2 separate regions of the Homo sapiens genome follow, and region 2 is linked to region 1. Evidence: promoter capture Hi-C in 16 types of primary human blood cells and fetal thymus (Javierre and others, 2016). All regions are on one chromosome and are shown on one strand. The core of a region is centred on a gene start or on the middle of the fragment in contact, and the rest is flanking DNA. Distances in the headings are between cores, read along the strand shown. Region 1 holds the start of FSTL1 (follistatin like 1). Region 2 overlaps GPR156 (G protein-coupled receptor 156).

What was found. The method cuts DNA at HindIII sites, captures the fragments that hold promoters and counts their contacts. A CHiCAGO score of 5 or more calls a contact.
Region 2: a fragment that was not itself captured here is called in contact with the fragment with the promoter of FSTL1 in region 1 in 1 of 17 cell types (M2 macrophages); the score reaches 5.4 in M2 macrophages.

The regions. Positions count from the first base shown.
Region 1 is chr3:120,447,085-120,454,508 of GRCh38, forward strand. FSTL1 (follistatin like 1) reads right to left here and starts at 3,908. Exons shown (of 11, transcript NM_007085.5): 1 at 3,813-3,908; 2 at 3,600-3,662. The coding sequence starts at 3,662. It overlaps LOC124900546 (a long non-coding RNA gene), which reads right to left and starts at 3,570. Exons shown (of 2, transcript XR_007096030.1): 1 at 1-3,570. The HindIII fragment of the contact is 12,724 bases long and covers 1-7,424 here.
Region 2 is chr3:120,236,671-120,244,094 of GRCh38, forward strand. It overlaps GPR156 (G protein-coupled receptor 156), which reads right to left. Exons shown (of 10, transcript NM_153002.3): 2 at 7,333-7,424; 3 at 6,970-7,106. Among named protein-coding and RNA genes, the nearest start is that of GPR156, 45 kb to the right of the region's middle. RefSeq lists an enhancer at 6,042-7,241. The HindIII fragment of the contact is 2,739 bases long and covers 2,582-5,320 here.

The DNA of each region.
Region 1 (7,424 bases), core at 2,658-5,157:
GCAGTTGGGCCACAGGGTTCTCTCCAGCCTGCCATGTTAGAGTGACAGATATCCACTGACTGAGCTTCAAGGGCACACACACTACCGCCTGTGTTCTTAACATTTTCCCAGGCTCCATACTATGCATCCACCATCAACACTTCTCAATGAACTGTAGTAATTCCCAATGGGAGGGGGATGGGAAAGAGTAGATGAGCAGGCTCACACAGTCCTCTCCCCAGAGAATCTAGAAAAGGGATATCTGTGTAATTATTAGTGCAGGCACTCCCTCTGCTGCTGCCCTCTCTGCCTAGTCCATTCACATGTTAATCTACACACATCTAGAGACATATGCTACACCCAGTACCTTCTTTCAAGCAGACTACAGAGTGCATGGGTGTGTGTGCTCAGGTGGATGTGGCAGAATCTGGAGGGAGGCTGGCTGAAGGTATATGCTGCAGACAGAGTAGTAAGAGAGTGAGCAGGTAAGAAAGAGAAGAAGCAATCAGAAAGCAACCCTGAGGTGCCAAGGAAGTAGGACACCATGGAACACATTCAAAACAATATGACACTTTGCTTAATGAGTTTGTTTCTATTTTTTTAAATACAAGGTTTCACTCTGTTGCTCAGGCTGGAGTGCAGTGGCACCATCACGGCTCACTGCAGCCTCAACCTCCTGGGTTCAAGTGATTTTCCTGCTTCAGCCTCCTGAGTAGCTGGGACCAGAGGCGTGTGTGCTACCATGCCCAGGTAATTTTCTTATTTTTTGTAGAGATATGGTCTCACGATGTTGCCCAGGCTGGTCTCAAATTCCTGGGCTCAAGCAGTCCTCCCGTCTTGGCCTCCCAAAGTGCTGGGATTACAGGCATGAGCCACTGAGCCCAGGCTCCTTTATGACTTTTGTTAATAGCTTTGTGAATCTAACCAAATGGGATTGACATAGACTGGCATTAATACTGATGACAATCACCTTTTCCCAAGTGGAGAGCACCTCTGATTCTGGTTTACTACAGAGGCTCTGGCTTCTTCAAATATCAACATGATTTGTAAAGTGATTAAATTGTTTAAAAATATGCTGAATTAAATATTTATGGTCGCAGAAAAGCAGAAAGCACCAAGAAGCCTCAATTTATTTTCTAAATTTCATTTCTAAAAAGTTCAACAATATTTGTACAATTTTAGCGATTTGAAGTTTACTAAAATAGATTGTCACTAAGGACTGTAAATATCATGATGTGACCATTTTTGCAGACTGTCCTTAGAGTTAACAAGGAAGAAATTTAAACAGCAAGCACCATTAACTACAAGATAAAAGGCTTTTAAAAAATCCAAATTACAATTCCCATAGGGAGAGGGTTAATGTACCTCTTCATCAATTGTTAAAGGTATATTATTATTAAATGGATTAAAAACTTGCCAAATCTTACTTGGCCAGGCACCAGGAGGTTGGAATAATTAAAAGATAATAATCCTTAATAACCTGGAGCCATGAAATGTAACCTAGCTCATACCTACCCCTCACTCTTTTCATTGTAACCATTTCCATACACTGTGAGTTCACAGCCTCTTTTCTCCCCCAACGCACTCTGTTTTCACATCTCAGTACTTCTCTATTTTGCCTTCTTCCCTGTAGTTTGCCTGGGAATTATGTGAGAGCACTGGATGCTCTTCTACCTCCAGCAGGAAATTGCTGCTGGGGGAACTTCCTACCAGGGATAAGTTTTCCCTGTGTGGAAGGGGGTTGGGAGGGGTGTGTGTCTTGCAGGCCGCCTAGAATAGATTCCAGACCTTGGGCCACACAGCCTGGTAAGTCAACCAACAGCCTCCTCACACCTCATATTTGCATTCCAGTTCACTGAGTGATTTCACACACTGGCTGGCAATTCTTGAGCCTGCTGGAAAACCAACCAGGGATTCACCTCATCCATCACTGGTCTGCAACTGCCTTTTGAGGGCCACAGCAGGGGATGGAGAAATGTTTCTTAACCAGGGCTACATCAGCCAGTGAAGGGGGATACGCTCTCAAATGCAAACCCTGGAAAACCAGATGGATAAGAAGCAGACCTGGAGTTCAAGATGGGCTCCAAAGGTAAGAGAGGTAGGTTCAGATCCTGCTTCAGAGCTAACTAGTTGTATGACCCTGGGCAAGTTACCTAATCTCCTTAAACCTGTTTCTTCCTCTGTAAAATCGGGATAATAAAACCTACATTACAGGGTTTGGGAGCTTTAAAAGAAGTAACTGCAGGTAACGTACACAGCCCAGTGTGTGGTAAACAAAAATGTACTTGGTAAATGTTAAACCATTGTGCTTGGAAGTGGTGTGGGTTAATGGTCAAGAGCCTTGGGTCCGGAGCCAGACTGTTTGGGTTCAAATCCCACCCTTAGCATTTAATAGCTGAGAGCATTGGGTAACCTTCGCTGACTCAATTTATCTGTCATTAAAATGGAATTTTATTACAACATAGCAGATATTTAATAAATATTAGCTACTTTTATTTCATTGGCAGTAAAAACAGTTGATTGAGTTTCCACCTCAATCAACAACGTAGTAGTGAATTAAATGAGAATTCAGTACAATGCGTATTTTTTAAAAATTGTGAAGACCTTGTATGCATTTATGACTTTTTTGGGCAGAGTCAAGCTGCGATGCTAAGGGTGTGGTTAAACTGTAATATGAAGGAAAAAATTCAAACAGGGAGCATAAACCACCCACCAGGGAGCTATTTCTTTTGTAATGTGCATTCCATTTCTTCTCCCTCATGCTTTTTAATTCCTTCCATATTTCCTGCCATAATTATCAAATGTTTAGTTTCTGACCTCACTTTCCTGGAGACTGGAGCCCGGGGAATTTAGAATTGTTTATTTTCTGTCCATAAACCTTTGAGTTAATGGAGCGGCTTCTGAGCAAAGAGTTTGTTGGTTTGTTTGTAGTGTCTCAGGAAGGTCGTTAGAGTTGAAAAAATTGGTACAAAAAAACAAGCGCTGAAATGCTTTAACTGGAAACTCGAGCCCCCAAAGAGCAGAGCAATGGATCTTCTCTTACACTTGCGCAACGTTACAGGGAACACTTGGGAAAAGGCCGTTACATTGCCCAGATGATAACACAAAACCCGAGGACACTTCACAAAGAAGAAAATACATTTCAGAGAATCATGATCTCACTTTAAAAGAGAGAAAGGAAAATTAATTTTGCCCCAAAAGAAGAATCCCGATTCCTCTGCCCCCGCCCCCAGGAGACAGACTTGGGAGGGAAAAGTCCCCAACTACTCTCAGTCTCCTCTGAAGTGAAGGACGGAACTGAGGCGCCTTTTTGAACTCGCTGCTGCTCCAGTCGCCGCCTCGTCCCCGTCGGCCCAGCCCGTCCCCTCTCCTCCTCCCCGCTCTCCCTCCATGTTAGCCGCGGCGGGGCTCCCGCTTACGGCCCGAACTACTTTTCCTGCTTTAAAGATTTAAGTTTCGTAAGCAGCATTACTGCCCCAGCTCCACCCCAGCACACCCCAAGGACCGAAACTCCCAGCGCCACCCCGGGAGAGCATCCCCAGGACGCGCGCCCACCCGCCCAGCGCGCAGACCCAAGAGGCCCCGGGGACCGAGTTCGGACTCCTCGGCCCCTCGCCTACCTCGGCGCGGACCCAGGCGACCGCCACCAGCGCGAGCGCGAGCGCGAGCCAGCGTTTCCACATCTGCGGAAGAGAGAAGAGAGCGAGTCTGAAGGCGCCGGGCCCCGCGCTGACCTGGGAAACTTGCTCGGGTCCCGCAGGCTCGCTCCGGCCGCCCAAGCACCCCCGGCCGCCCGAAGAGTCCGGCCTCCGCGCCGTGCGCCCTGCGCTCACCGTGGTCTGGTCCAGGTCTCCTGGGGGCGCGGGGCAGGACGGCGGCAGCGAGCTGTAAGCGGAGGTGGGAGCTCCGCCGATCGCCAGCCTCGGAGGAAATGCGACCTCCCCTCGCCGCCCCTTAAGACCTCTCCTTCCCCGCCTGCCTGCCCCCCCAGCTCCTCCCCATTCTCCTCCCCCTTCTGCTGCAGCGGCCCCCGCGGCTCCCGCTCCCCCTCCTTCCGACCCCTGCTCCGGGGAGCCCGCGGGAGTCCTGGCGCCGCCGAACCCCTCTCTCCGCACGGTCCCTCGTCCGGCGCCCCTTCGGCCCCCTGGACGTGGAGCGGAGGCAGAGGGGGTGTCCCGTGGGTCCCTGCCACAAAGGGGTAGGGGGAAGGGAAACCCCACCCCGGGAGGGGCTGCTGGCTGGCGGCGGCCCGGGCGGGCTGCGGCGGTGGCCAGGTGGGCGGTGCCGTGGGGGGCCCGGGAAGGTCCGGGACTGGAACCTGGAGGAAAAGACGTCCCGCGGCCTAGGAAGCGGAGCCGCCCCCCATGGCTGAAGGGGGAGGCCCAGGGAGGCAGAGGAGACCCCGCATCCCGGGGTCACGGCAGCAGGGCAGCGGGGCACCGGGAAGTGGGCGCAGGGCCGGGAAGACCGGCCGGCGTGGGGAAGGCTGCTGTGGGTTCTACAGTGCATTGTCCCGGGTGAGGTGGCGGCCGCCCTGCTCTGCTGGGAAGATCCTGAGTCCAGCGTTTGCCGGCAGCCTCATCCCCTCCTTCCCTCGGGCCGGGGAGCGGTGTCCCCCTCCTCTCTTCCGCCCACTCACTCATCACCTGTGTCCCTCCTCCCATCCCTGTCATCCCAAGTAGCCTCTGTGTTCAGGATTGCCATCTTCACCACCTTCTTCCCAGCCCTTGGCCTTCGAAAGTGTGCTACCTCTTTGACAGGGTTAACTCCCTAAAATGCTCCTAATTAAGGCGCCTTTCCTGCCATAACTAGTAAGGAGAGCAGATCCACTTAGCAACTCAGATTTCACATGCCCAAGACTAAGCCTCACTTCCCCCAGCTTCAGGGCCTGCTTATCTACCTCTTTCAGGGTGGTTGCCTTCAAACCTATCTCCTTTTCTCAGAGCCGGCTTGTACCCATAGCCTGGCAGTTTAGCCGCTGAGATCTCATATGCATCCCCTCGCCTCCGTTCACATGTCCACTTTCCTAGGCCAGACCTTCATCCTCCCTCACTCAGAAATTCTGGAAACCTCCTTTCGTTGTCCTCTGACTCCAGGCTCTCCCCTGTAGTCTCCACTGCAATCCATTGTCATATTCTTTCCCTTATTTTAAACATTGTCTTCCTCGTGTTCATGTTCTTCCTCTACTCAGAAACTTCAGCGTTCTTCTACCCACATCAAATCCAAACTCTGCCTTTCTTATAAGCCCTGCATTACTGGGCCCACCCTGTCCATCTAACTTCTCTTCAACTACATCAGCATACTTCCTCCGCTCAAAGCAGGCCCATCTCCTCGTTGTCCTCTGAACTTGTCATACTCACTCTGCTGCCAAGGTTTGTTGAGTGCCCACTGTTGTGGCTTTAGGGGGCTTCAAGATAATACCCATGGTCCCCATGTAAGTTCAGAATCCACTGAGATAGCAACAGGAGTCAGACTTATGGAGAGCAAAATGTCAGCTTTGTCTCTGCTAAAGGCTGGAATGGCAGCCATGGCTTTAGATCTGCAGGGACAGCGGGCCCAGAATTGAACATGTCCACTCAGTCACAAGCAGAGCTGGAAAACCTGCCTGTGTAAAAACTAAACTGCATGGAAAAGCAGAAAATATGTGCCTCCTGGGACATGCCTGCTCCCCAAACTTGAGGGGGTAGAGTGACACATCCCCAGTTCTTTCAAACTCTCCAGTCAGACAACTTACTCCTGCTCCCTTGTTATGGTAATAAGATTAGGGAATAGATGTTCCGCACCAGATACTCTGTCTTGGTCACTGTGCAAGGATTGAAGGGAACTATTGTGGATAAAGTTCTGCCCTCGAATAACGCACAATACATTGCATCCCTTGCAGATCCACTGCACCCTCTCAGAATCTGGTATCATCTTTCCTCCCTTCCTCTTATCTACTAAAATGCTTGGGTTTGTTTGTTTGTTTTGTTTTCAGGAACCACGTCAAGTTTGCTTCCTTCATATCTTTTCTGACAACAGCTTGGCATGGTAGAAGGCACAGGAGGTTTGAGGTCAAACCAATCTGGCTTTCCATCCTATCACTGCCATTTACTAGCTGCATGGCCTGACTTGCATCAAATAATAAGCCCTCTGAACCTAGGTTTCTGCCTCTGACAAATGGCAGTGATAATGCCTTGCAGGGAGTTGTGAAATTTAAGCAGATGCATATAAAAAGTGCCTGGCAGGTAGTAGACCTCTGTATGTGATAGCCATTATTATTTCATGATCGGCTTTGCATCTAAATTGTAGTTGGTACTATACACCAGGTACTATGAAAGCCATTCAACATCTCTTATTTTATTTAATTTTCACAATAGATAGAAAGGAGGCTGGGCACGGTGGCCCATGCCTTGTAATCCCAGCACTTTGGGAGGCCAAGGCAGGCGGATCACTTGAGGCCGGGAGTTCGAGACCAGCTTAGCCAACATGATTAAACCCCGTCTCCACTAAAAATACAAAAATTAGATGGGTATGGTGGTGGGCACCTGTGGTGCCAGCTACTTGGGAGGCTGAGGCACCAGAATTGCTTGAACCCGGGAGGCAGAAGTTGCAGTGAGCCGAGATTGTGCCACTGCACTCCTGCCTGGGCAATAGAGAGAGACTCCATCTCAAAAAAATAATAACAATAAAAAATAAAAATTTAAAAAATACAGTAAATGGAAAGGTCTTTTTTATTGCTTCCGTTTTCCAAATAAAACTGAAGCTCAGGAAGATTTAGATACTTTCCCAAGTTTATACTGTTGGCTACACAGCCTTACAACTTGGGGCATTATATTGCAGACTGCTATACAATGTTTAACACTTGTTCTCATAGTTATTCTTGATTCTCCAGCTAGTTTTAAGTTGCTTAGAGCAAAAACAATGTTTTTCATATCTTTATCCTCTCTACATTTGGAACACAATTAATGGATTTGAGTATATCAAAATGAAATGAAAGATTCCTGTTCAACTGAGGGCACCATAGACAAAATGATAGAAGGAGATATAAATGTCTAAAACTGACATGTAACTCATAACACACACACATACACACACCCTGCAAATCAATCAGAAAAAGAAAACCCAATAAAAAAGGGCAATAGGTATGAATAGGCAATTCCCAAAAGGGGAACCCCAAATGGACAATAAATATAGAAAAGATACTCAACATCACTACTATTATTTAAATTGCACAACAACCATTTGAAATCAGTATTATTTTATTATCTCCAATATACAGATGAAGAAACACACACAGAGTTTAAGTAGTTTGTCCAAAGTTATACAGTAAATTATAAATGTCACTTTACACTCATCACAGTGGCAAAAATCAGACAGTTGGACAATATCAGTGTTAGCATGTGACTAGTGCAATCTTTGTGGTGTACTGTAGCAATTAAAAGCATGGGTTTATGAGACAGACTGCC
Region 2 (7,424 bases), core at 2,701-5,200, 210 kb before region 1:
TGGTTGTTCCCATATTAGGTGCATATGTATTTAGGATACTTAGCGCTACTTGTTGAATTGAGCCTTTTACCATTATGGAATGCCCTTGTCTATTTTATCTTTGTTGGTTTAAAGTCTGTTTTGTCAGAAACTAGGACTGCAACCCTTGCTTTTTTCTGTTTTCCGTTTGCTTGGTAAATTTTCCTCCATTCCTTTATTTTGAACCTATGTGTGTCTCTGCACTTGAGATGGGTCTCTGGAAGACAGCATCTGGGTGTTTGCTGATGCTGACGGGTCTTTGCTCTTTGGCCAGCTTGCCATTCTCTGTCTTTTAATGGGGGCATTTAGCCCATTTACATTTAAGGTTAGTGTTGTTATGTGTGAATTTGATCCTGTCATCATGACGCTAGCTGTTTATTTTGCCAACTTGCTTATGTGGTTCCTTCATAGTGTCACTGGTCTGTGTACTTCAGTGTGTTTTTGTGGTGGCTGGTAAGTTTTTTCTTTCCATATTTAGTGCTTCCTGCAGGAGCACTTGCAGGGCAGTCCTGGTTGTAACAATTCCCTCAGCATTTGCTTGTCTGAAAAGGATCTTATTTCTTCTTCACTTATGAAGCTTAATTTGGCCTGATATGAAATTCTGGGTTGGAAATTCTTTTCTTTAAGAATGTTGAGGCCGGGCGCAGTGGCTCACGCCTGTAATCCCAGCACTTTGGGAGGCCGAGGTGGGCAGATCACGAGGTCAGGAGATCGAGACCATCCTAGCTAACACAGTGAAACCCCGTCTCTACTAAAAATACAAAAAATTAGCTGGGCGCGGTGGCGGGCGCCTGTAGTCCCAGCTATTCGGGAGGCTGAGGCAGGAGAATGGCGTGAACCCGGGAGGCGGAGCTTGCAGTGAGCTGAGATCGCGCCACTGCACTCCAGCCTGGGTGACAGAGCGAGACTCAGTCTCAAAAAAACAAAAAATAAAAAAATTGTTGAATATTGGCCTCCAGTTTCTTTGGCTTCTAGGATTTCTGCTGAGAGGTCCACTGTTAGTCTGATGGGCTTCCCTTTGTAGATGACCTGGCCTTTCTCTCTGGCTGCCCTTAACATTTTTTCTTTCATTTTGACCTTGGGTAATCTGATGATTATGTGTTTTGGGGTTGATCTTCTTGTGGAGTATCTTACTGGGGTTCTCCACATTTCCTGAATTTGAATGTTGGCCTGTCTTGCTAGATTGGCGAGGTTCTCCTGGATGACATTATGAAGTATGTTTTCCAATTTGGTTCCATTCTCCCCATCTCTTTCAGGTACTCCAATCAGTTGTAGGTTTGGTCTTTTTACGTAATCCCATATTTCTTGGAGGTTTTGTTTGTTTTCATTCTTTTTTCTCTATTCTTGTCTGCCTGTCTTATTTCAGAAAGACAGTTTTCAAGCTCTGAGATTCTTTCTGCTGCTTGGTCTACTCAGCTATAGACACTAGTGATTGGATTGTGACGTTCTCACGTTGTGATTCTCAGCTCCATTAGGTGTTTTATGTTCCTCTCTAAACTGGCTATTCTGGTTATCAGCTCCTGTAATGTTTTATCATGATTCTTAGCTTCTTTGCATTGGGTTAGAACATGTTCCTTTAGCTCAGCAAAGTTCGTTATTACCCTCATTCTGAAGGCTACTTCTGTCAATTCAGCCATCTCAGTCTCAGCCCAGTTCTGTGCCCTTGCTGGAGAGGTATTACAATCATTTGGAGAAGAGGCACTCTGGCTTTTTGAGTTTTCAGCATTTTTGCATTGATTCTTTCTTATCTTTGTGGGCTTATCTACCTTCAGTCTTTGAGGTTGCTGACCTTTCAATGGGTTTTTTTGGGGATCTTTTTTGTTTATGTTGTTGTTGCTGCTTTGTTTTTCTTTTAACAGTCAGGCTCCTCTTCTGCAGGGCTGCTGTGGTTTGCTAGTGGTCCACCCCAGACCCTAATCACCTGGGTCCCTTCTGCACCTGGAGGTATCACTATCACCAGCAAAGGGTGCAAAACAGCAAAGATGGCTGCCTGCTCCAAACTGACGCTGGCCCAAACACTCCTGTAAGAGGTGTCTGGGGATCCCTTTGGGAGTTCTCACCCAGTCAGGAGGAATGGGATCAGGGACCTGCCTCAAGAAGCAGTCTGGCTGCCCCTTGGGGGACTGGGTGCACTGCACTGGGGGGATCCCCTTTTGTCCAGACTGCCCAGACTCTCCAGAGCCAGCAGGCAGGAAAGGCTAAGTTGGCTGAACCACAGAGACTGTGGCCACCCTTCCCCTGAGGGGCTCTGTCCCAGAGAGATCAGAGTTCTGTCCATAAAACCCTGGCTGGAGTTGCTGAAATTCTCACAAGGAGGTCCTGCCCAGTGAGGGGGGATGGATCGGGGTCCCACTTAAAGAAGCAGTCTGGCCACAATCTGCCACAGCAGCTGTGCTGCGCAATGGGGAGGAAGTTCTGTTCTATGCTGTTTGTTGAGACTTTATCAGAAATTGATGTTGAAGTTTGTCAAAAATTTTTCTGTATCTACTGAGATGATCATATAGTTTTCTTTTTTAGTTGGTAAATGTCATGAGTTATTGATCAATCTTTAGATATTAAACAAAGCTTACATTCCAGGGATAAACCTCACGTTGTCACAATGATGTATTCTCTTTTTAACATTTGGTGATACTCAATTTGTTAAAATTTTGTTTAAAATTTTGAATCTATGTTTATAGGACATATTAGCCTATAGCTTTCCTCCTCCCTTCTTCTTCTTCTTCTTCCTCCTCTTCCTCTTCCTCTTCTTCTTCTTCTTCTCCTTCTCCTTCTTCTCCTCCTCCTCCTCCTCCTCCTTCTCCTTCTCCTCCTCCTCTTCCTTCTCCTTCTCCTTCTTCTCCTTCTCCTTCTTCTTTTTCCTATTCAATTTTGAAATCAGGGTAATACTGCCCTCATAGAATGAGTTGGGAATTACTTCTTTATTTTCAGTTTTTTTAGAAGAGTTTGAAGTTGAACTGGTAATATTTCTAAGTCACAGCTTAGTTGGGTGCCTGTGGCTCAGGTTTTCACATAAGAATACAGTCAAGGTGTCACAACAATACAGTCAAGGTGTCACCTGTTTCAAAGTTCACTGACATGGCTGTTAGCAAGCCCCAGGTACTTGCTGGCTGCAGGCTGGAAACATCAGTTCCTTGCCAATGGGGGCCTCTTTACAGGACAGCTTATAACACAACAGCTGGCCTCCCACAGAGTGGGAGTTAGTGGGACAATGAGAGAGCTCTAAGGTGGAAGCCACAGTTTTTGTGAACTAATGCCAAAAGCGACATCTCACTAAAAAGCAAGTTAGTAAGTTCACCTCATACTCAAGGAGAGAGGACTTCATAGGAGTGTGACTACAAGGAGGTGGGAATCATCGAAGAACATCTTAGAGGCTATCTACCATAGTTGTTTACAACATTACCTTATCCGTCATATCTACAGAATCTATAGTGATGTCACCTCTCCCATTCCTTATTTGGGTAATTGTATCTTATTTCTTTTTTTTCTGATCACTTTGGCTAGAGGTTGATCAGTTTTACTTATCTTCATAGCTTTTGGCTTTACTGACTTTTTTTTCCTATTGTTTTCTGTTTCCTATTTTATTTTCTAACCTGATCTTTATTATTTCCTTTCTTCTACTTACTTTGGGTCTCATTTGCTCTTTTTTTCTGTTTGTAAGGTGGAAGATGAGGTCATGGATTTGAGACATTTCTTCTTTTCTAATATGGGGTTTAGTTCTCTAGATTTCCCCCTAATACTGCTTTAGTGGCATCCAACAAATCTAGGTTGTATTTTCATTTTAATTCTGGTCAATATTTTCTAGTTTTCCTTTTGATTTCTTTTTTGACCATGGATTAAAGTGTTCTATGTAGTTTCTAAATATTTCAGGATTTTCCAGAGATCTTTCTGTTATTGATTTCCATTTTAATTTCATTGTCAGAAAACATAGTTTATATGACTTGAATCCTTTAATTTTTTTTTTTTTTGAGACAGAGTCTTGCTCTGTTACCCAGGCTGGAGTGCAGTGGCATGATCTCAGCTCACTGCAACCTCTGCCTCCCGGGTTCTCCTGCCTCAGCCTCCCAAGTAGCTGGGACTACAGGTGCATGCCACCACACCCATCTAATTTTTGTATTTTTAGTAGAGATGGGTTTTCACCATGTTGGCCAGGCTGGTCTCAAACTGCTGACCTCTGGTGATCTATCCGCCTCAGCTTCCCAAAGTGCTGGGATCACAGGCATGAGCCACTGCACCCGGCTTGAACCCTTTTAAATTTAATGAGACTTTTTCTATGGCCCAGAATATGATATATCTTGGTAAATGTTCCATGTGTACTTCAAAAGAATATGTATTCTGCTGTTGTTGGGTGAAAGGTAATATAAATGTCAATTGGGTCAAGTTGGTTGATAGTGTTCAAGTTTTCTTTATCTTTACTGGTTTTTGAAATTTTTATAAAAATTCAATATCTGCAACTGGATTTAAACATTTTTGTATTATTTTTATTGTGTTAAAATATTTTTCTTCCTCTCCTTTCTTGCATATACACACACATGAATACTCACACACACAGTCCCAAATTTAGAGACCACAGAATTGTAACGAAATAAAGCATCTGATTGTGATGCTGCATCTTTTAACAAATGTATTGTTCAATAAAACACTTTTGAAACTGGGTTATTTTATCTTTCCTTGTCTGACCTTGTAAGCCACTTAATTGTAAAATGTGTTTTTATTCACAATACCTCTTAATATTTTATTCTTTATGCCAAGTCATGCTCCCACTGCAAACAAAACAGGCAGCAAAATATTTAATAGAGTGAAAGAAATATAAGGGTTTCTAGTATAATGCTGTTTACAGGTGTTCCTGTTTTAACAGGATATATAAATACTTGATAAACCTTGTATTCTGCAAAATTATATGTAAAAATAATAGACTGTGGGGAAAATAGGATGGGGTCATAACACTCAAAACAGTTAACTTTGTAACAAGAGTATTAATAAAATATTAATTATTCCAACTAAAACACTACCACCCAGTAAATGTCCACTAGCATTTGTACCCAGGATCAAAGTCAACTTCTACAGTCTTAAATCTCAAGACACAGGTCCTCAGGGGCATTCATCTCCAGTAGATAACATTGTCAAAAAATTAAAAATCTGCTCTGGATCTGTGCTTTCTTTAACAATCAACTGAAGTTTTTAAACATAAGGCAAATGTCTTCTCCACTTCTTCATCTACTCCTACAGCCTCATCTTGTAGGGAAGACACAAGTTCTTAAGCCATTAAGCCAGACACTACTTGCACCAAGGGAAGGAACTGCCAAGCTTAAAGCTTCCTTTACTAGCTGTGAGAAAGCTTGCCCCTGAATGTTTAAATTATTGATTTGCTGGGGGAAAAGTAACATATGAATCAATGACATAATTTTCTTATTACCAACTGGGTAATACCAATTGAGTATTACTTTGCATTATAGAAACATGTTACAGCTGAAAAGACTGTACTCCATAGTTCTCTAACCTTGAAATGCATGATTTTCCCAGTCACTTTGTTGGCAGCAGCCACCGTTGGGATTTAAATCTCTTTCCTCCCAGGATCACTGGATGCATATTTACTGAGCACCTATTATATCCCAGAGTCTGTTCTAAATGCTGGAGACACAGTGGTGGGCACAAGAGGACAGGCAAAGTCCCTGTGTTCACAGAATTCCATTCTGGTAGGGGATACAGACAATCAACAGGTAAATCAACAAATATGGTAATAGCAGACTATGCTTGCTATAAGGAACATAAAACAGGCTGATAGGATATGGAATGAGATGAGGGGGTGATCATGGGTAGGGATACTACTTTAGATAGGATGATCAGGGAAGGTGTCTCTGAAGAGGTGACACTGGAGCCAAGACCTATAAGATGAGAAGGAACTAGTCATGGGAATATCTGAGGAGGACTTCCAGGCAGAGGGAACAGTACAGGAACAGTAAGTACAAAAGCCTTGAGATGGGAGTCAGCGTAGTGTGCTTGAGGAACAGAATGAAAAGTGGCTGAGGCAGTCTCTGGGGTATACTCTAGTTGGAGTGCCACGTATCACCACCATGCTGAGGCTGACCCAACAACCAATCACTGCTGCTTAACAATTCCACGTCCTCCATGCCTAACATGGCAAAACAGCATCCCAAAATGCAACTGACCAATTCTCATCTGAGTGTCAAATCCACAGGCAATGGAGCACGACATGCTTGGTCACCACACAGGGTAAGGCTGGAGTGGGGCTGGACGAGTTTGGCTGGTTTGAGGAAGTTGTTAATTTCTGATTGTGGGCTCCATCTAGAAGTCAGCTGTGGGCTAAGGAGAGGGCTGGAGCAGGGCTTCTCATGAGGCACCCTGGGACGGCTGTGGTAGGATGAGGGTACAGTGTGGGGGTGGGAGAGATGGGATGGGCCCTGAGGAAGGATGAAATTGCATCCAAGGCAAGGTGCTATAAGTCCCTTCAGAAAAAAGTCACCATTTTGCTTCTTTTGCGAATCCTGGGAGCCATACTTACCCTGATAAGCTGATGACTTTCTAGTCAGCCAGAATTATCTAGCAAATAGCCAGGTAGCAGTGCTTCACTGCTTTTGCAGAAACCCTAACTCACCCAGACTGGTTCTGCTGTGCTGTCCTCAAGTTTTTGTGTTGTTTTGGAATCCTCTACATGGTCTTCATTTTAAATACAGATACCTCATCTTCTCAGAAGGATTGTACCTCCATTATAGAGAGAGACTCTTCATTCTCTTCTTTGGATACCCTTGCAGTAGTTAGCACAATACCGACCTAGATCTTTCCCCTTCTCAACAGGTAGACTATTTCAGAGGGAATGTCTCATGTGGTTTAATCCTGTAGTGGGAGACCAGATAGTGGCTTGTGCTGCCAAAAGATACTAACATTTGGGATTTCATGATTGAGCTATGTGTGATGAGAAACTGGGCTGCTTACCTGTTCTTCCTGCAGTGAATTGTAAAGGCAAGAAAGAAAAGTATCAGCAGAAGTCCACAGCTGAGAAAAGTCCAAACAATACCCAAGAGGACAGGAGATAATGAAGAGATGGTCTTACTGCTGTGGTGGGAAGATGTCTGAGGACAGAATAAGGAGGAGCTGTTAGGAATGAAGGATCTTCTATAGGTCAAAAACAAACTGCCCCATCGTCACCAAGTGCTGGGAAATATGTATCCTGCATGAGCAGTTTCTCCTCCCACTCCTCCCCTTCCTCATCCCCCTTTCCCTCCACCTCCTCCTCCCCAACACCACCACCACCACATACATCTGAGCAGCCCTGGCATCCTGTGGCTGCTCACTTACAATTGTTGTCTTGCAGAGATCATGAAGGGGTCTCCGATCCAGCTCCTGGCCAGGAAAACTGTCACACAATTCAGAGCAGTTTATTTCAGGCT